Regions from separate parts of the Homo sapiens genome. Here region 2 is linked to region 1. The links are contacts of gene promoters, found by promoter capture Hi-C in human tissues and cell types (Jung and others, 2019). All regions are on one chromosome and are shown on one strand. The core of a region is centred on a gene start or on the middle of the fragment in contact, and the rest is flanking DNA. Distances in the headings are between cores, read along the strand shown. Region 1 holds the start of ARHGEF28 (Rho guanine nucleotide exchange factor 28). Region 2 overlaps ARHGEF28 (Rho guanine nucleotide exchange factor 28).

Evidence for each region. Contacts are between HindIII fragments. The study calls those that stand out against the background at their distance.
Region 2: a contact is called between a fragment that was not itself captured here and the fragment with the promoter of ARHGEF28 in region 1, in 1 of the 25 tissues and cell types used here (H1 embryonic stem cells).

The regions. Positions count from the first base shown.
Region 1 is chr5:73,624,180-73,628,416 of GRCh38, forward strand. ARHGEF28 (Rho guanine nucleotide exchange factor 28) reads left to right here and starts at 2,017. Exons shown (of 36, transcript NM_001177693.2): 1 at 2,017-2,143. RefSeq lists a silencer at 1,726-1,815. The HindIII fragment of the contact is 7,824 bases long and covers 1-4,237 here.
Region 2 is chr5:73,808,884-73,813,120 of GRCh38, forward strand. All of the region lies in intron 9 of ARHGEF28 (Rho guanine nucleotide exchange factor 28), which reads left to right. Among named protein-coding and RNA genes, the nearest start is that of ARHGEF28, 180 kb to the left of the region's middle. The HindIII fragment of the contact is 5,459 bases long and covers 1-4,237 here.

The DNA.
Region 1 (4,237 bases), core at 767-3,266:
GTACGTATTTAAATATTGATCAAGCTCAGGGCTTGAGAGCAGGCAAGAAAACTGCAGCTAGCATTGTATGTCCTTGGGTGGTGAGAGTTTCACAATTACTAGTTTTGCTGGTTTCTTTTTAGTGGGGAAGGGGCTTGGGGGTAACTTCTTATAATATTTGTTCCTCTTTCCACATTTTTTTGTTTTTTAAAAAAAGATACATACCTGCCAGAATTAAAAAAAAAAAAAAAAGAAAAAGAGGGCTTCAGTACTAGTGATATGAAAAAGGACAATAACAACAAAGGCTTCTAACACATCACCATGTTTATTCACCAGAGTTTGGAAACCATTTTTGTCTGGCATGTTGATTCAGTTAATCTTCAGTTCAAGTGATTCTCCTGCCTCAGCCTCTCGAGTAGCTGGGATTACAGGCACGCACCAACACACCCAGCTAAATTGTGTGTTTTTGTGGAGACGGGGTTTCACCATGTTGTCCAGGCTGGTCTCGAGCTCCTGACCTCAGGTGATCCACCCGCCTCAGCCTCCCAAAGTGCTGGGATTACAGGTGTGAGCCACCACGCCCTGCTCAAAATTTTTTCTATTTTTGAAAAGAATATTATTGCTTTTATTTTTATCTTGTGTACCTTGACACTGGGCAGGATATATATATATATTTTTTTTTTCTTTTTTTTTTTTTGTGGCAGCGCCTGAGGCCAGGCCTTGAGTTCACAGCTCTGTGGGGCTGAGGGTGGAATCAGCTGGGATGACAGCCCAGGTCAGGAGTGCAATGCCAGTGTTGGGGTCCCTTTCCCAAGGCGGAATTGCAGCCTTTGCCTTGGAACAGGGCTAAGGCATTCAGACACACGATGGTCTTTCTCTTGCTAATCTCAGCCTTTCTCAGCATTCGTATCAGCAAGGTGGGCTGGGGAAGGTGGCGGCTGGAAGGGAGACAGAAAAGGCCCAGGCCCAGGAGAAGTGGTGGTGGCAGCCTGGGAGCTGGGCTCCATTCTGGCTTGGGATCTTGGTGGCCAGCTTCCTCGGGCCACACCTTTGTTATGGTTCTGTGCGTAGCCAGTCTTCAAAGGAAAAACAAAGCAGAGACTCAAGGTGATTTTATAAATTTTATTAGAAACTTTATATTTCAATACTAATTTCCTTACAAATAGTCTTAACTATAACACTTACTGCCACAGCAGTCTCAGATGGGCAATTTTACCTTTAAAGCTGCAATAATGGTCTTAAGTCTGTATATGAGAGCCTGGCTGATGAAGAGGCTTGGCTTCTGCTCTTGGGGCTGTCATCACATCTAAGAGGAAAACTGCTTTGGAGGATAAGGAAGTCCCTTCACATTGCTGTTCATTGTAAAAGTGGTTATGGTTTTCATACGTTTTTGAATTAAGACTTGCAGCCACTTGCGTGCATAAACGTGAAGGGAATCGCAGCTTGCAAAGCTCTCGGCCAGGGAACATGAGCTTCAAATAAGAGGGCAAATGCTGTTTTTAAAAATAATATTTCCTATTGTAATAGACCCGGGCCGTATTATGTCACGGGTGTGGTGGCTTTTGGCTGGGAACAGCCTGAGCCTCCCTCGGGCCTGGCACAACTCCTTTCGCGAGCGGGCAGCCCAGCGCCTCCCTCGGGAGGCGCCAAGGCGTGGGGGCGCCCGGGGCGCAACTGGCACTCCTGTGGCCCGCCAGGTCCGCGCCAGCCTCCGCGCCTCCGATCTCCGGAGGCCAACGGCCGCAGCCCCGCAGCGGGAGGGGGCTGGCGGAGACAGCGCGGTAGGGGCAGCTTCAGGTTTCCTCCTGGAGCCGGTGTCGGGCGCGGCCGGCGGGCGGGCCTCGCCATGTGATGCGGCCGCCGCGAGCCGGGCCGGGAGGTGGGCAGGCGGGGATCCAGTGGCAGCGGGGAGGCGCGGGGGGAGCGGGGGGAGCGGGGGCGGCACCCGCTGCTGGCGCAGCCAGCCGGGCCCGGGCGCGCGGCCGCGGCTCCACCCCCTAAACCTTGGCTTCAGCCCGGCCGCCGCCAGGCGTTGGCATCGCCGGGGAGAGCCTTCCGGACTCCGGGCGGCGGCTGGCTGGGGGCGCGTTCCGAGGCGCCCTCAGGCAGGGCGCGGGGGCAGAGCCTCGCCTGGGTTCTGGAGGCTGCGGGGCCATCGCTCCAGGTAAATGCTCTTTGGGACTCCATCGTCTGCGTTTCCCTGCAGCTCTGGGCGGAAAAGTTTGTCCACCTGAGTTCGCATCCGCAGGGCCACTTTCTCCAGGGTCCCCAGGGATGCGAGGGTCAGCAGAGGTGACCGGGGAACCGCTGCAGGCGCTGCGGCGCGAGGGCTGGGCGCCGCCTCCCGCTCCCTCGGGAGCGGCAACAAGTGGAGAGGGCGGCGCAGCCTCGTGCGGCGGCGGCAGCTGCGGAGCGCGGGGTCGCTCGGGCGCACTGAGAGCCGGGGGCTGGGCGGGTGAAAGCCCCGCCAGTGTCCTTCGGGAGACAGGGAAATAAACAGCACTCCTGCGGTGGAGAAGGGAGAACGTCGAGAGTTGGTGTCCGCCCTTCCCATCCATGCTTCAGCTCCGGGACTGAGGGTGCTTGGCAGGGCCAGGACCGCAGAATGCAGACGGAACGCAAGCTCAGGACACACGCACTACCACTTACTCGTGTGGAAGCATCTGCTGTGTTTCAAAAGGCATTTATGGTTACCTTGGTTGGGAAAGGTGGTCAGAATTATGTGGGACTCCTTACGCTTATTTTATGGATTTGTTTCCCCTTAAATACCCGGGGTGTATGTGGTGGTGCCCCAGCCTTCCCGTGCTTAGGTTTTCCGAATGACAGGCCGGTGTTTGGCCAAGAAAGCACCATTTGGGTCGAGGGCTGTATGGAAACTGGGTGCTCAGGCGGCCCTGGATACCCAGCTTTGGTTTCCCAGAGACCAGTTAGATTTCTAAGAAAGAATCCATCTCTATAGGCCCACAGCGTCCCCGCATTGGTTGGCTGGGTGGGCCGAGGAACAGTGGCAACATCTGTGTTTGTGCGGCTTCTCCCGCCTTGACCCCTGCCTGGGTATCCACACATCTCCTCACACCAGGAGTTATAGAGGTTCACCACGGACCACACCAATTGGGCAAAATCCAAAGAAAGTAAGATCTTTAATTTTCGTTTATAAAGAACTGATCATTTGGGGTTCCATGGGGCCCCTGGCTTTCTGAAGCGTTGTTATCTTGTGTTCCTAGGCCCTGAAGCTGTCAGGTGTAAGTGAAATCCTGTTTTCACTGCAAAAACAAATCAAGGACCTACCCTTGTTAGGTTCTGTGGCATCTACTTTGTACATGACAATCCAAGCGTAGTGATGACTTCTGGGAAACCTGGGAAGGTTTCTCTAGATCTGTCCTGGGTTTTTAGTTACACATTCCTAAAGCACATGGGTATTTGCCTAATCTTGATTAATAGCCAAAGTAACCCCTTTGGAGTATTTGCAGAAAAGAGATGAATATGGCAAAACCCTTTGGAATTTTTAATACAACATAGTATTTCAATGTAATGTTCTGATGTGGACTCTATATGTGATTATTGGGCTGATTAACTTTGATCAAATAGGAATTTGGCTAGCATCAGATCTTATAGCTAATGGTTAGGGAAACTGAGGCTCAGAGCTAGCTATAGAGTGTGTGACTCAGATGAATGTCTTGGGTAATGGGAGAATGGAGAACAGAGAATCAGTGTTTGTCCTGCTTTTGACTTTTTTTTTTTCCTTATCAAAACCACACAATCTGGCCAACTAAGAACAGGTTGTATAGCAGGCGTGTCATTAGACTTTCCTCTGAAGTACCCAACTGTCCTTTAAGCAGTTTATAAACACTTAAAGGTAAAGAAGAAAAATAGTAGTTAATAACTAAGTTTCTATGAAATGTCTCAGAAGCCTCACTTGGGTGGGTTTCATACTTTTTTTTTTTAATTATGTGAGTACTGCAGAAGAGTTTGGAATGTTTTCTTATTGTGTTCTTATAAGAAACTACACTTGTGGCTAAGACTTAAATTGGGCAGGAATTTCAGGTGAGCTCTGATACATGACCTCCTTTAGTATGCCCCGTGAGAAAAGACTATGTGTTCTAAGTAGGTATTAAAACAAATTGCAGCATATACTATTACTTCTATATTAAACATTCTGTACACCACTATATTGGTACCCAAGCTCCAACAAGTCCTGCCAGTTTATGACCAAGGACTGAATTCCAAGAAAAAAAGATTCATGATATAAATGTTGGAA
Region 2 (4,237 bases), core at 980-3,479, 180 kb after region 1:
TTCTTGGAACTTCCTTGCACATTGCCATGTCTCAGTTTTAAAAATCAAATGATTACTCCTCAGGGTCAAAGTGAGACTATTTCAGTGGCTGGGAACCATGGCTTATGCCTGTAATCCCAGCACTTTGGTGGGCCGTGGCAGGCAGATCACTTGAGGTCATGAATTCAAGACCAGCCTGGCCATGGTGCATGTTTTGTAATCCCAGCTACTTGGGAAGCTGAGGAGACAGGAGAATCACTGGAGCCTGGATGGCGGAAGTAGTAGTGAGCCAAGATCATGTGACTGCACTCCAGCCTGGGTGATAGAGCAAGACTCTGTCTCAAAAAAAAAACAAAACACAAAAAACTGTTTCAGTGTCTATAACAGAAGAATAATATATGAAAGGGAAATTTTATTTACATTCAACATTTAAAGCTTGTTGAAAATTTACTTCTGTTAAGTTCTTCACTGTTATAATCTCACTGGATCCTCACAATAACCCTTTAAAGTATAGATATGATTCCATTCGCTATGAGACAACTAAGGCTCAGAAAATGGGAATGACTTGGTTAGGGCCACTAACTGACGGAGCCATTATTTGAACCCGGATATCTGTGTCTCCCAAACCCATGATTTTTCTTTTTAGCTTGTGGTGCACTAAAAATGTAAGACACAGTTCTTGCCCACAAAAAATTTTGGGTCCCCCTGGAGGATGAGAAAACTGTGCAAATACTGTAATTCAGATCAAAATGTAAATACTTCTTTGAGATTTACAAGGTTGAAAGGCAGGTTAATGTCTAAATGAAGATCAAGGAAAGTTTCCTTTCTGTGTGGGTCTTTTAGAAAGCTGAAACTTCAAGGCAGCAGTATCTTCTCTGAATAATTATAACCTCATGGAAGTTCTTTTCTAGGTGAAGAATTTTGTAATTAAAGGAGGCACATTCAGGCGAATGTATCTTCCATGAAAGCATTCATACTCTTACATGGTAATGGTTGTATGATATATGGTGAAAGGGTGGCCTGGGGGATATATCATTGAATTCTGCTGTCTGCAATTACAATCAGCCAGTAACAGTCACCTGTTGAATATGAATGAGATGTAAATAGCATCTTGAATTAATTTAAATGCAATTATATTGATAAACTACAGAAAAAAAACCCACTTCAATTACTATAGAAAACAAGGAGGATAAATGATCCACATTCAGAAGAAACGTGTTGGTGAGCAAGGAGGTAAGCTGGCCTAAAAATAAAAAGGGCTGTGCAAACACTATTTTTGACTTCACTTTCTAGTTGTATGTTAACTGTTCATGGCTAGTCAGTAGAAATCATTTTATTCTTTAGAAAACACTGATAAATGGTAAAGCAAATGAGTACATTGGAAAGTCTCTTCTTTTGATATCTGAGTTATTTTCACATATGTCAGTTGGGTGTCTCACATGTATTGGTTAGGTCGTTCAATACTGTTTCAGAATAATTTTGACATCAAGAATCACTTGATATGTAACTGGTCAACAAGGACTGCATTTGGAAGAATAAGATTAGGATGAATCTGTCTGGAATCTCAGCTAATAGAAATACTTTTTATGCAGTTTTTTTCATCTCTCTCTTTGTCTATATTGCCCTGAAGTTCTTCTGACCTGTCACTGGTAGTCACGGGAGGAACAGCCTATTCCAGTAACTTGCTGATGTGGGGTTTATCTACCTCCTAGTTGAGTGACTCTAAAACTTCAATAGGCATGAGAATTGCTTGGCATAGGGGTGGTGCTTGTTGTAAATTATTGCAGATTCCTGGGCCACCCTCAGAGAGATTGATTCAACACATCTGGGATGGGAATCTCATAATCTGCATTTAAAATGAACAGTTTTCCCTCAGGCCCCTTCCTCCATTCTGATGCCTCTGAGAAATTCTGCCCCCGATTCTGCTTTCTCTACATTTGTAGTCTTCTGAACGCTTTGTCACATTTCTGACCAACTTAATAAAACAAGTTAGGGAGCCCCTATAGATTGTATTACTTTTGTTCTGTTTGTAATTTAATAAGAAACATGTCTTTCTCTTTCCCATAGCATCAGTCAACTGTAAGAAGTATAGTATTCCTATACCTTTAGTTAAGGGGATGGTATAGTAGAGGTTTAGCATGTGTAGCAAGGAGCTACAAAACCCACTCCTACCAATTCAGGATGAGGACTTTAGTATTTCTAACCGCCTTGGAAATTTTGCATTTCAAAGGATTCTTTAATGGTAGCAAGTAGAGCTGAAGAAAAATAACAGTATCTCCTGATCCAACACTATTTTGGTTTGGTGATTGTCCACACTAGTGAAGGTCCCCTTTCCTTGGTCTACAGACAACTTAGAAGCAGCCAAAAGGCCATAGACCTATGCACACTCCCATCATTGTCTGCAGCCTCAGAACAATGGGTTTTCTCTACCCAGAAGTACTGTCCTTTTTACAACTGTTGTGCTAAATAAAATACAAATATATATTTTAAACACTTTATAATAGTTCTTGTAGATGTTTTTGTCAAAATATGTGTTTTTAATCAGTTGTCATGTAAAGGTTCTTCATCCACAGGGTAAAGGTCATTGACATGGCAGACCGACTATTGTAAATCATTCATTCTTTCAGCAATTGCCTACAGCGTCCTAGGCACCATTCTGTGCTCTAAAATCAAGAGTGAATGTAAATGCTCTTCCACAAGATTTGGTATATTTTCTAATTAAAGATCCATATGGACTAAAACTCTTTTACTGGATATAAGGGCTGAAAGTTACATATCCTTATAATTATACCCAGCTGGTTGAGAATAATACGTACTTATTCACCTAATTAAAAGCCACAGGCTTGGCATGGTGGCTCACGCCTGTAATCAGCACTTTGGGAGGCCAAGGTGGGTGGATCACGTGAGGTCAGGAGTTCGAGACCAGCCTGGCTGACGTAGAAATAACACATCTCTACTAAAAATACAAAAATTAGCCGGGTGTGGTGGTGCATGCCTGTAGACGCAACTACTCAGGAGGCTGAGGCAGGAGAATTGCTTGAACCCAGGAGGCAGAGGTTGCAATGAGCCGAGATCCTGCCACTGTACTCCAGCCTAGGCGACAGAGTGAGCCTGTCTCAAAAAAAAAAAAAAAAAAGCCACAAAATAGAAAATGTATCAGTATTTCTTTCCACTTAGTTGCAATGTTTGTAACTATACTCTAGTTGTATTTTGTTTTAGTTGTATGTTTATGTGACAAACTATATAAAAACACAGTAGTGATTTATGTAATTCTGATTTTGATTTAAATTTGAAATTAAGTGGTCTCTCCCCTTTCTCCTCTTCTCCCTGTATGCCTCACTCAACCCCTACCCAATCAGACAGGATTAGCTTCCATGGAGCAGGCTATGCAGCTATTTTCTTACACAGCGTGGCACAGTAGTACCGACAATTTAGGAAATAACTGAAGCAAAGAAATGAATGTTAATTAAGACACATACTGTCACCTTCTAAGTCTGCAGACTTAATGGATCCTCATATTGTATGTTTCCAATGTCGTTTAGTTTATTTGGACATCAGGTGACCTCACAAAACAAAACAAACATTTCTTGCTATTGTTTCTACTAAAAGAAATGCTTAAAAGAGACTGCCTGATAACATTTGGGATATCCTTTTTTTCCACTGCAGATCTCGGCTGTTGTGCTTGAGCTTATTTGGGGCATGGATATCTATGTGCCTATAGGAAGCGGAGAAGTGAGCCTGAGCAGTGCCACGATTTATGGGGAGGCAGTAATGAGCTTCTCCTGAATGCTAATTACTGGAGAATTGTTCAGGGAGACGGCAAGAACTGTTGGTTTGTGGTAAATTAGTCACCAGCTCTATTGAGGTGGACTGAAAGTTTAGATCGGAGCTATAAAGGCACCAAAATCCTGATGATTGACGGCCAGACTTGGTGACAGTACCAATATGGAAATACCCCAATTGTGCTAAACAGTGGTAGATAACTTTGTATAAATCTAATGAAATGAGTACAATCTATATAAAAGTTAAAACTTCCAACCACATTAGGATTAAAAGGGCGGTGAGACTGGATTGTTAAATGAATTATGAGAGCTGTTTTGGTTCTTAGATCCGAAAAGCTGCCCAAGCTGCCAATGGTATGAAAGAATAGTCTGCTCTGGAAAGAGCTCTTCCTGGAGTCTGCTGGCCTTCATTTGCCTGGGGATCAAGCTTTCTGGCTGTCCACACACATAAACCTCAACCTTTATCTAACACGGCA